Regions from separate parts of the Homo sapiens genome. Here regions 1 and 2 are each linked to region 3. Evidence: promoter capture Hi-C in 16 types of primary human blood cells and fetal thymus (Javierre and others, 2016). All regions are on one chromosome and are shown on one strand. Each heading gives the region's core, a stretch centred on a gene start or on the middle of the fragment in contact. The rest is flanking DNA. Distances are from core to core; before and after follow the strand shown.

What was found. Contacts are between HindIII fragments. The CHiCAGO score rates a contact against its expected background, and 5 or more counts as called.
Region 1: a contact is called between a fragment that was not itself captured here and the fragment with the promoter of STAT4 in region 3, in 1 of 17 cell types (M2 macrophages). The highest score is 5.3, in M2 macrophages.
Region 2: a fragment that was not itself captured here is called in contact with the fragment with the promoter of STAT4 in region 3 in 3 of 17 cell types (M2 macrophages, M1 macrophages and M0 macrophages); the score reaches 8.5 in M2 macrophages.

Annotation. Positions count from the first base shown.
Region 1 is chr2:191,541,297-191,545,487 of GRCh38, reverse strand. All of the region lies in intron 2 of LOC107985833 (a long non-coding RNA gene), which reads right to left. Among named protein-coding and RNA genes, the nearest start is that of NABP1, 130 kb to the left of the region's middle. RefSeq lists a silencer at 3,766-3,928. The HindIII fragment of the contact is 9,670 bases long and covers 1-4,191 here.
Region 2 is chr2:191,500,313-191,504,628 of GRCh38, reverse strand. No RefSeq gene overlaps it. Among named protein-coding and RNA genes, the nearest start is that of NABP1, 180 kb to the left of the region's middle. The HindIII fragment of the contact is 1,721 bases long and covers 1,015-2,735 here.
Region 3 is chr2:191,149,503-191,153,663 of GRCh38, reverse strand. It overlaps STAT4 (signal transducer and activator of transcription 4), which reads left to right and starts at 2,670. Exons shown (of 24, transcript NM_003151.4): 1 at 2,670-2,717. RefSeq lists enhancers at 2,251-2,330, 2,461-2,510 and a silencer at 2,981-3,030. The HindIII fragment of the contact is 5,548 bases long and covers 1-2,792 here.

The DNA.
Region 1 (4,191 bases), core at 1,667-4,166, 390 kb before region 3:
GATAATAGTCCTTGACTTTATATATGTCACTGCAATGAGCTTCACAGGACAAATCTTAGAGAAGTATGTCAGGAAAAAAGTCTGAATCTAAAAACATAGAGCAATAGTTCTTACACATTAGTGAGCATTGGAATCACAAGGAGGGATTTTAAAACTCAGCTGGGCCCCACCTAAGAGTTTCTGATTCACTACATGTGGGATGTGACCCAAGCATGTGCATATTTAACAAATTTCCAAATGATAAAGATGCTGCTGTTCGGGACCACATTTTGGGAACTGGCATAGGGGAAAGAAAATGAAAGGATGGTCATCTAGCAAACTGTACAAGATAGAGAAAGCACTTGGCTGAATCTTCAGTGAAGATGAAGCAACAATGGAGAATGTTCCCTTGCTGTAGAAAGAGTAAGAACCATTACTTCAGAGGTAAAATTGAAAAGTGAGGGAAGATAGCACCATGAGGGGTAGTCAGCTGAGGTCTTCTTCCTCAGCAGGCCCAAAGGACTGGGCTTCAGCTAAGGAAGCTGCTGAAGGCAATTCTCCAATAGAAAACTACAAACTACCTTTAGGAGACAAGACTCACAGGCCTGAGCTATGACTACCTCCCTCAGCCAATGAGACCAACCCCCTCAGGCAGAATGGCCAATTTCCTAAGAATTTCCATGACACCTGTACCAGGTAACTACCAGCTAAATAGCAAGTGAGTAAACTAATATCTCACTGGCTTATACTACCATTTTCATTATGCTAAAAGCTACTATTTATTAGCTGTTTACCAAGTGCTGGGCCCTATGCCAAGTGCTTTACAAGCATTATACTTAATGCTCATCATCTCCTCATAAACTACATCATTACATTTATTCTACACATAAGAAATCTGACACTTGGACAGGTTGAGTATCTTGCCCAAAGTCACACAGCTAGTAAGAATTCAGGTAATAAGTGCCTCTTCATTTTTCCTCCTGGAGAGAGGAAGTTCCATCCAGGAAACAAGAGGGGTAGAGGCATAAACAAAAAGAACAAAGAAGAAATGAGGAGCGGAAAAGAACAACACCGCCCACTGCAAAAGACGAGCTTCAGCATTCATGAAAACCTAGTTTCTTCTGAAGCCAGCGTATGAGAAAATCTTACTTCCACAAACTGACCTATTTTCATCTTGGTCTTCTAAGTAGAAATCCCTCATAATGTAAAGCAAATAAAGCAGAATTCCTGACTTTCATATATCTCTTAAAGCCTAACCAACAAGGCTGAGTCTTCAGTTCAAGTCAGTTTTCACTGCACAATGCCAATAGCTGAACCCAAACTCTTCAGCTGCTGGTGACCCTGTGAAGGCAAGAACGTGGCGGGTGGGTGGATGCGACTGAGGGGCTGAGTGGCGTGTTTTGGTTAGGCAAAGCAGGCAGGCATCACAAATACGAAAAAAAGCCTGCAGCATGAGCTTAAAGAGTTGTGATCTGTTTGTAAAGCTGGTAAAAACTGCTCCACAGGAGCCAAAGCCAAATCCAATACTGTAAAGGAACATTTACTGGAGAGCAACTTTCCTCCAGGGTACATATTTGCATGAGGTGTAAAATTGCTAAATATCTGAGGAATAAAAGAGCTGGGAATCTTATGGCTTAGCTAAGAGTCACACTAATGCCCCAAGCCAAGGTTAAAGCAACAATGACTTCAGATCTCTACAATGACCTCGAGTATTGCCACTGTGAGAACTTATTTATTTTTGCCTTCTCTAGATTATTTCATCATTTTGAGCAAAAGCAAAAACAGATTTATGTGTCAATTTTGGAAGGGAAATTTACTTCTTTCAGGCCCTTTTTTGATGTTAAAAAAAAAAGTAGAAATGCATCCCAACTTTTTACAATTTGGCAATAATACTTTATCTTGAATGCTTACCTTCTAAATTACTGGTTTCTTCTCAGGACACTGTAGGTCCTGGGCAAAATAACGAGAAATACTGAATAGCTGTAAAAGCGTAAATGTCAATCAAGCTAGCAAAGCACAAAGGGTGAGCACCTAGGAAGAGGGGCCTTTAATTTACAAGGTACTTTCTAAAAAAATAAATGTCATGAAAAGATATTTTATCTATCACACTGAGTTTCCTAATCAGAGAGATAATTTGATCTCAAGAGAAGTAGGAGGAAACTGCTGGCCTCTAGAGTTTCATGAAAAGCAATAAGTAATCAACTCAAAATGAAGAAAAGCAAGTTTTCTATTTTATGTCTTATTTCGGTACCCTTTGCTATATGTAGTTTAATGATTAAAATCTATGTAGGCCAGGTGTGGTGGCTCACACCTGTAATCCTACCTAGCTCTTTGGGAGGCTGAGGTGGGTGGACTGCTTGAGCCCAGGAGTTTGAGACCAACCTGGGCCACATGATGAAACCCTGTCTCTGCAAAAAATACAAAAAAATAGCCAAGTGTGGTCGCAGGTGCCTGTAGTCTTGGCTACTCAGGAGACTAAGGTGGGAGGATCACCTGAGCCCAGGAGGTCGAGGCTGCAGTGAGCCATGATCTCACCACTGCACCCCACATGGGGCAACAGAGTGAGACCCTGTCTCAAAAAAAAAAAAAAAGAGAGACCTATGTAATGAGTCTATAGTTGTAATTACAGTAATTTCTCATTAGTCTATCAGTTGATGACATGCCATGGAAGAGCTGAAGCAAGTGGTAGACTGCAAGTTGCTGTAAAAATAGTATAAAGCCTTCGATGGAAGCAGGCAGAAGGAGAGTGTCATGGCTGGAAAAAGGACCTGAAATCATATTATTATGGAGCACAAACCATTAGAAAGAGATTGTTATTTTTTAAATATTTTGCTTGCAGTTGCAGGACAAAAATATGCAGACTGAGCTACATATGGTTCTTAAAGACATTAGGTAACTATTGCTTTCATTTTATTTTATTTTTGGGATGGAGTCTCGCTCTGTTGCCCAGGCTGGAGGGCAGTGGCAACATCTCAGCTCACTGCAACCTTCGCCTCCCAGGTTCAAGCAATTCTCCTGCTGTTAGCCTAATGAGCAGCTGGGATTACAGGTGCGCACCACCACACCTGGCTAACTTCTGTATTTTTAGTAGAGACGGGGTTTCACCACGTTGCCCAGGCTGGTCTCAAACTCCTGACTTCAGGTGATCCACCCGCCTCAGCCTCCCAAAGTGTTGGGATTACAGGAGTGAGCCACTGTGCCTGACCAGGTAACTATTGCTTTCAAAGTTTCTTCCAAGTATTTTAGTAAGATATGACTTAAAGATCACTGCTGGAATTTCCAGAGAGGGGAAAAAATTTCCACCCCCCAGGTCAGGTCCTGCCCCCTGCACTTACTGCTGCAAAGGAGTAGTGGATCTCACGAATGAACTTGGGAAAAAGACCCAGTCATGCTCAGCACTGCACTTTTCAGCCTTTGGAAGCAGCCCTCATTTTGCTGCCTCCTACTTGGATATTTTGTGGGCCTCCAGCCTGCTTGATGGGGATGAGAAAGAGTAATTCAAGTAAGAAAATATTGGGGAACCCATTGAGCAACAGATCTACACTTTGTTTACTGGTCAGCATTCTCTGTACAGGAGGAAGCCTGGAGGGATAAGAAAAAGAGTAGGTTTTAGGCCTGAGGAATATGAGAGGTCGTGATTTGAACCTGACCTTCCAGGACTTTCTAAAATTACATGTGTCTGGCCAGGCGTGGTGGCTCATGCCTGTAATCCCAGCACTTTGGGAGGCTGAGGCTGGCAGATCACCTGAGGTCAGGAGTTCAAGACCAGCCTGGCCAACATGGCGAAACCCTGTCTCTATTAAAGATACAAAAATTAGCTAGGCGTGGTGGCATGCACCTGTAGTCCCAGCTACTCAGGAGGCTGAGGCAGGAGAATCACTTGAACCCAGGAGGCAGAGGTTGCAGTGAGCTGAGATCACACCACTGCACTCCAGCCTGGGCAACAGAGCGAGACTCCATCTCAAATAAAATAAAATAAAATAAGATAAAATAAAATTACATGTGTCAAGGTGGGGAGTTAGAGCATATTTTATCTACCAAGTTGTAGACCTGATACTGATTTTGTAACATGTAGTCATATGGTACGTGGGCCGCCCGTTGTTCTCTTGCCCTGGACCCTGCACGTTAGGAGCAAGGCTGCTGCTCTGGTCCCTCACCAGTGGGCACTTGGAGATCATTTCCTTGTATCAGACCCCTCTTTAGTCACTGCAG
Region 2 (4,316 bases), core at 626-3,125, 350 kb before region 3:
TTTGGGAGGCCGAGACGGGCTGATCACAAGGTCAGGAGATCTAGACCATCCTGGCTAACATGGTGAAACCCCATCTCTGTTAAAAAATAGAAAAAATTAGCCAGGCGTCGTGGCAGGTGCCTGTAGTCCCAGCTACTGGGGAGGCTGAGGCAGGAGAATGGCGTGAACCTGGGAGGTGGAGCTTGCAGTGAGCCGATATCGTGCCACTGAACTCCAGCCTGGGCAAGAACGAGACTCCGTCTCAAAAAAAAAAAAAGAAACTGGGTCCACCCAACATGGCCAGTCTGGCAACCTTTAATAAGCAAATGCCAGCCGTTAGAAACTGAGTCCACCCAACATGGTGATTCCTGCAGCCTTCTTGCCCTTGCCCCACATGTGCCTGGAAACATGGCTGCCCCCATCTATCCCCACATGTGTAGAACATCATGGTGCCCTGCATTTGCATATTAAAAGGCTAGGGTACGAGGGCCATTTTTTTCACGGGCTATGTGAATGACATGCCTTGTCAAACCAACCCCCTGAGCCCTACGCAAATCAAACATCGCCTCCTCCAGCCTCTTCATATACCTGGTTGGTTTCCGTGGCAAGTGGGGTTCCCTCTCTTGGCTTTGGAGTCCCCCTCCCTCTGTCTCTGTACAGGGGAGCTTTTTCCTTCTCCCTTCCTTCTTACTCCTTCTTGCCTATTAAATTCTCCGCTCCTTAAAACCACTCCACGTGTGTTTGTGTCTTATCTAATTTGATGTGAGACAAGAGCCCTGGTGTTCCTCCACTCATCAGAGCCACATCAATAATTTAGGTGAAGTGCTTGGCCTAATGCTTTGCGAAAAGCAAATGCTAATAAATATCAGCTTGTTACTGGTGGAAGTTATCTGAGTTACAGGTGGCAAATCCCTATGGGTCTGTAGCAACCTCAATTCTTGCCTCCTCAAAAGAAAGAATTCAACTGAGGGGCATAAGGCAGAAAAAGAGACTGAAGCAAGTTTCAGAGCAGGAGCGGAAGTTTACTGAAAAGCTTTAGAGAAGAAAGGAAAGTACACTTGGAAGAGACTCAAGTGGCAACTTGGAGGTCAACTGACCCATTTGATCTTGAACCTAGCATTTCATATGCATTTCACTTCCGGTGTTGTGATCCCTTTTTCCCTTGATTCTTCCCTTAAGGTGAGCCACCCACATGCGAGGTAGCCTACTGGTGCCTAGGAGGTGAGCGCGTGGTGTGTTTACTGGAGTTGTATGCATGCTCACCTGAGGCTTTCCTCCCTTTTCCAGTGGAATGCCGGGAAGGTCATACTCCACCATTTTGCCTCTTAACGTGCATGCTCGAGACCACGTGCCCAATTTCTGAAAGCTGCCCATTACCAGTTTCAGGGGTTTTTATGTACTGGGAAACTGCCTCTCCCTGGCGCTGGCTGCAACCAATTATTATATTAGAGAGGTACTGTGACAACTGCCTGACCATCATCCAATGGTCACCTGACATTCCTGGTGAGTGGGAGATGCCCTCTCCTGCCCTGCTGATGCCCGACTAGCTACCTTTTGTAACAAGCTGTTGTTGTCTTGTGTCATTGTTGCTAACAATTCTGCAAAGAACTTTGGAGTTTGGCTAAAGAAAAATAAATTTAGTTTTGTCATGGTCCTTCTTTTACCTTCCTTATGTAAACCAAAAATAAAATTCTAAGTCCCCCCAACCATCTGAATGGACTTCCTTCTTGGCCACGGTGCTCTTAAAATTTAACCTGAGAGACTGGTTTAGGCCAGGACAGGAAGTGAGGGTTGGACAGCATTCATTATAGCTCACTGGCATCGACATCAATGTAGACCTTAAGTCTGATAAGAAGCATTTACAGGCCAGGCACGGTGGCTCACACCTGTCATCCCAGCACTTTGGGAGGCTGAGGCAGGCAGATCATGAGGTCAGGCACTCGAGACCAACCTGGCCAACATAGTGAAACCTCGTCTCTACTAAAAATACAAAAAAAAATTAGCCGGGCATGGTGGCTTTCTCCTGTAGTCCCAGCTACTCGGGAGGCTGAGGCAGGACCTGGGAGGCAGAGGTTGCGTTGAGCCCAGATCGGGCCACTGCACTCCAACCTGGGCAGCAGAGTGAGACTCCGAGACTCCATCTCAAAAAAAAAACCAAAAAAACAAAAAAAGCACTTACAATTCATTCTCTCTGAAGCCGGCTACCTGGAGGCTTCATCTGCATGATAAAACTTTGATCTCCACAACCTCTTATTACAACCCAGACATTTCCTTTCTGTTGATCCCAGGTCTAGATAAGCTCAACCAATTGTCAACCAGAAAATTTTAAAATCTACCTATAAACTGGACCGCCCCCCCAACCCTCACCACCTTTGAGTTGTTCCGCCTTTCTGGACCAAACCAGTGTATTTCTTAAATGTGTTTGATTGAAGTCTCTTGCCTCCCAAAAAATGTATGGAACCCAAGCTGCACCCCGACCACCTTGGGCACATGTTCTCAGGACCTCCTGAGGGCTGTGTCATGGGCCATGGCCACTCATATTTGACTCAGAATAAATGTCTTCAAATATTTTACAGAATTTGACTCTTTTTGTTGACACTTAACCATAAAATGGAGACGATATTCTGTCTAACGTTGAAGAATTAAGTAAAACTAAATCTTTAAGCACTAGATTTTACAGGCAGAATTTTGTTACTATAAAGTGTTAGATTAAAAGTTTATTTCTAAATGCTTGTTCATTTCAGAAAATTAAAGCTTTTTCTTTGATAATTACAATACTGCTGTCTTTTCTTGCACAAAGAAAGACAATGGAGAAACAAGGTAACAGGAAGTCCCCATAAGTTTTCCTCTTATTTTACTAAACACTGTACAACCAAGAGGCAAAATTAATTCCACAAGAGGGAGACAGGTCCATGCTGAATTTCCTCAGGGAAAGAAAAAAAAAAAAGAAACTATGATTCTGTTCAAGGACTTCTTGAAATTTCCAAAGACATTTTAGGTTTTGCCATATTTTTAAAGGGGTCAGTTTGTGTGCTCTTTCCTTTTTCTCTCACCTTTCAATGAGCTATTAGAGAAACCGGTCCTGTCTAAAGGGAGCCAGAAATTGAAACTTGGCTCCCAGGCAGACCTTTCAACAAAGGCCACAGCCATCTCCCAACTGGCCTTTGCTCCTCCAACTTGACATATGACACGGGTCCCACCAACCATCTCTTTCTGTGGAAACCAGCTTCCATTTCTCCCCTTCGTTTTCTGGTCTCTCCCATGGCCAGCCCCCTCTCCTTCACCCTGGGGCAGGAGGGAAGGCAGGGAGGGAAGAGCTGAAGCTGCGGCTGCTCTGGTGTGTTTCTACAAGATGCCTGGCAGCCTATGGGCCTCCCAGCTGGCACGGGGGTGAGGAGACCCGGAGCTTGGTGTGGGGAGGACAAGAGACCTACACACAATGGGATCCCAGGAGATGAGCAATAACCCCACTTCTGGCTCAGCCAGCCGTGTTTGGCCTGTTTCCGCAACAGCTATAATTTGCTTTGTTTCTGTGCCAGAGTGGGCTTCCCCAGCATGGGAAAGGATTCCTTTTTGGTTCATCCCCACAGTTTCCAGAAGCCTCCCTACTTCAAGCTGCTGCAGTGTATGCGTCTCTACTGAAGGATAATAAAGTTGTCTTTGGAAGGAGCATTCCTGACTCAGCCACTTCCTACCTGTGGGGCTTTGGCCTCAGGTTCACCTTTCGTTGTGTGGGGATGATAACAGTCTGCAGAGTATCAGGATTAAAAGAGACTAGACAAGTCTGTGATTTTCAAATTGTGCCCTGAGGAGCCCTAAGGGTCTGGAGGACATATCTAAAAAAAACTGCTCTGGCAATGCAGGGGGAGCTCCAGCAGTTCGATATCACCTGCTTCACTCACACACACACACACACACAGTTACTTTACTCACAATAGCTGGTTGGCCTTGCCTAGAAGAGCTTGACCCTCTCCAGATTACAATCCTCCTCTTCCTCCCTGTGCTTTAGAGCTGGGGTTTCTAATCACTAGCCTTATGCAGCTATTTTCAAATGGGGCTTCCCTGGAGCTGCACTGGGGTTTGGATACCCAGCCTCATATCTACTCTGCCCCCGCCCCTTAACCCCACAGGGCAGCTCTGCTTTTCTCTGTCTTATATAATACACTGTGGTTCTGAGTAGCGTTGGTAGCGAGGCAGCAGTCTAATGCTCTCAGTCTGAGAAGCCCCTGATGGAGGGCATCTGGAAGCACTTAGGGGAGCAGTAGTGATGAGGCATGATGCCAAAAGGCATGGGGAATGTGAGCAAGAATTGAGTGGGACTGGGGCTGCCTCAATGC
Region 3 (4,161 bases), core at 1,421-3,920:
AAACTACCACTCATTGAGTTTTGATGTGGTATCAAAGAAGAATAATTATTTGAAAAGGTCATTATAATACTCCCCTTTTCCAACTACATAAATGTGTGAGTCCATACTTTCTTCAAATATGTCAACCAAAATAATACTTTGCAGCAGATTAAATGCAGAAACAGATATGAGAATCCAGCTGTCTTCTCTCAAACCAGACATTAAAGAGATTTTTAAAATGCCACTCTTCTCATTACGTTTTTCATGTTGGAAGATATATTTGTTTTTCTTAAAACATGTTTAACATGGAGTGGGTTTATTATTGTCATTTTGAAGGAATAAATACATATTTTAATTTTTTCTCAGATTTAAGTTTTAACACAGTAAATAAAAATTTCATCCAGAACAGTAATACACAAACATTCCTTGGGTTTGTCAACAATTTTTAAGGGAATAATGGTATCTTGAGAACAAAAGGTTTAAAAACTGCTGTGGAAGCCGCAAGGTAAGGCCCTGAAAAGGAGGAGGAGAACAAACTCTGTTTTGTACAGCAGGCACTCAACAATTGAATATGATAATGATAAGGACATGTAAAACCAGTGTGACTAACACTATGAGGCAGGAAGTGAAAAGTGCTAAATAAGTGGTCTAGATGTGCACTGTCCAACACGGCAGCCACTAGCCATATGTGGCTTGGAATGTGGCTAGTCCTAACTGACATGCCCTGTAAGTGCTAAATATACACCAGACTTCAGAGATTGAGTATGAAATAAGGAATGCAAAGTATCTTATTGATAATTTTTTATATTGATTATATGCCAAAATGTTAAGATTCTTGTATATATTGGGTTATTTACAATATTAAAATTAATTTCACCTGTGCTTTTTTCCTTTTTAATATGGCTATGAGAAAATTTACAATTACATATGTGGCTTACATTTTATTTCTCTTGGAGAGCGCTGGTTTGGACAGGAAGTATGAAGAATTTGGAGCAGGGAAACATTGCTGTGGGTTCAGGTCATCGGGAAGTCTTCACTGAGAACTATAGGATTTCACTAAGTAGGTAGGCTCAGGGAGGAATATCCAGTTGAAGAAAGCCTCGGTAGTGAAATATGAGGTTAATCTGGGCAGCTGAGGTGACTGCTTGGGTCACATCATGGGCTCTTATAGGGGAGAAAAGTTTCCTGGATAGGTTGGGACCAAACTGTACAGAACTTAAACTGCCAAGAATTTGGATTTTTTTCCTATAGGCAGTGACAGCTTCTCCAGAAGAAAATCAGACTTTGCTTAGTAGCTTATGGAATAGCCTGAAATTGGCACTTTCTTATGTAGGGTCAGAGCAGCATAAGCTCCTGGAAACTGCCTGCTCAACAAGCAGTGGGGACCAGGCCTACCTAACCAGGAAATTTACAGTGATATGGAAAGTGTGACTTTGGATTGATTGACCTATTTGGGGGTGGGTGGTAAGTTTAAGCACATGATAATGTCACCTGGGAGAGAAGAATCCAGAGGGTGTACCTGTGTGAAACCCGTCAGGGAAGAGGGAGGCAGGCCTTTCACCTTGGTATATTGCTCTAAGCATGTGTATAACCAAATTGAGTGACACTTTCTACCTTTCTTTCAGTCTGTCTGTCTGTCTTTATTTTTGTCTTTGTTTTACTATTTTTACTTTCTTAAACATTTTTATTGATTTTTTAATATACGGTGGGATTTTACTGTGTTGCCTGGGCTGGTCTCAAACTCCTGGGCTCAAGGAGTCCTTCCACTTCAGCCTCCCAAAGTGCTAGGATTACAGGTGTGAGCCACACGCCTGGACTTCTCTTTATTTTATTGAACCCCTACTGTGAATCAAGGGGTTAAGAGCTAACTACAAGGAGATGAAATGAAAAGACCACTGAAGTGGGAAGGGAAACACCTGGGCTATTATCGGGCTCCGTGGCTAACTTATTGAGTCCTCTTGGTCACCTCACTGGGTCTCTTCAGATATGAAAGAGGATTTAGCATTAGATGGGACCAAGACTTCCTCCAACTCTGTGATTCTAGAACAGGCTGATGTCACAAAGGGAGAAGAACGCACCGTAGCAACCAGGGGCAAGGCTACTCAAGGAGAGTAGGAGGAGGCTAGGTCAGGAAGGGCAAGCACTGGTGGCCTACCCAGGACTTGGCCCAACCCTCTGGGTCAGGTCACCCTCGTCGGAGTGAGCGGACCCCGCTGGAATTGGAGCCCAGTAAGGTCTATGAGTTTGGTGTTTTGATCCTGGCTACCCATCCCTTCCATCCCAGGGGTGGTTCACCAGGCTGAGTGGAGCCTTATACTAGGGAGAGAGGAAGCTGAAGAACTGGGCTCCAGGTAAGTAACTCTGCAGAGGATCTCAGATTGTCTAAGGAAACCACTGAAGAAAATGTATGCCCCGCCCCTCCCCTTTTTCCTGGCACTGCTGAGCCACCTGCAGTTGCGAGAGCCGCTGGGAGGGATAAGAGGGAAGAGGACGCCCGGTGAAGGGGCTCCAGCCTGGCAGTTTCTGCGTGTTAGCATTTCTAGAATAGAGTGGGTGGGAACTGACCCAAGTAAAGTCCCAGAGACTCGAACACTGACGCACAGGAAAGCCTCAAGTGGGAGGAGAAATGCAAATCCCCTACTGATGATGGCGTCAGCGGCTTTCTCCTAGGGACTGTGAGGGGCGCTTCTGACTTTGGACTTGAGCACTGCCTGGGACCTGTGCTGAGAGAGCGCTAGGTAAGTGGCCAGACCACACCTTCTGGCTGCCTCTTGTAAGGAGGACATGCTTATTATGCAGGATACTCTGAAGCTTTGCTTTCCCTTGGCGTTTTGACAATTGCTTCATTTTAACCTTCCTGAGGAGGCTTATTATAGAAGGAAGCGCCCGACTCCACGACCCACAGATGCGCCCTGGCACGGGTTCTCCGCGGAAACCGCTCCGCAGGCCCGCGCCACGGTGCCCGGGCGAATCTCCCTGCGGGGGCCAGGGGAGCTGCGGCGGCTGCGGAGGTGTGTCCTCGCGGAGGCTGAAAGTGAGCCCCTCTTCACTTTCTTAGCCAGCTTCTCTAGAGCTGTGATGTCTGACTTTAGATTAGCGTACCTGGATTTCAGAAAAAAGCTTGCAGCTACGGCAGCCGGTGACTGTGGCTTTGATGGGCGCGAGTGACATTTTAGGGCAGGTCATCTCCTTTTGCAAGCTACAGGCCACAGAGCCAAAGCGGCACCACCAGCTCACAGACGGTGGGACAAAATGCCCCTTTAGTGGGATCTTCTAGGAAATGCACGCAAAAAGGACAGACAGGCACTGAGTTTTCAGAAGCAACGTCACAGTTTTCATGAGAAAGAAGTAGCCCCTAGAGAGTGAAAGCAAAGAAACCTGCTGAAGGATGTCTAAAGGCGTTCCCAGAGGCTGCAATAGAAAATGTCCTAGGACTATGTATTCCTTCTTCTTCCTTTTTTCAGCTTTGAATTCAGCTCTCCGAAAGACTCAGATCTTAGTAGTGATTTTTTTCGGTGTTTATTTTTATTTTTTTTAATTTTCCTTTTATTTTCATTTGACACACAATTGTAAATATTTATGGAATATACAGTGATATTTCAATAAATATGAACAATGTGTTATGATCAAAGGATATTCAGCATATCCATCACCTCAAACATTTATCATTACTTTGTGTTGTGAACATTCAAAATCCTCTTAGCTTTTTGAAAATATACACTAAGTTATTGTTAACCATATTCATCCTAGTGTTACAGCACTAGAACTTATTCCTCCCATCTACCTGTAAGTTTTAGTTAGAAAATAGATTTTTCATCCAAATCATAGCGGGGGTTTAACAATAGTATGATGAAAAACTGTAATGCTATTTTCAACTCATGTTCTCTGTTGTCATTAACTAAAATAAATTGATAGATAGGACAATGTTGATAGTAGCATGAGAACAAATGTTCCAATTTTGTGTGGAATATATACACATCCGATGGAATATATATACATCCGATATCTGGAAAAACAAATGGTTCAGACTCAGGAAACCTCAGGTTGTCCCTTAGAAGCCTCACACATTAGGCAGGCGTCATTTCGCCTATTTGATCTTCAAGTTTTTCCTTTTTAAAGTTGACATACTACTTATATCCACCTACCATATTCATAGCAATGTCAGGAGTGCCACTCATTCTT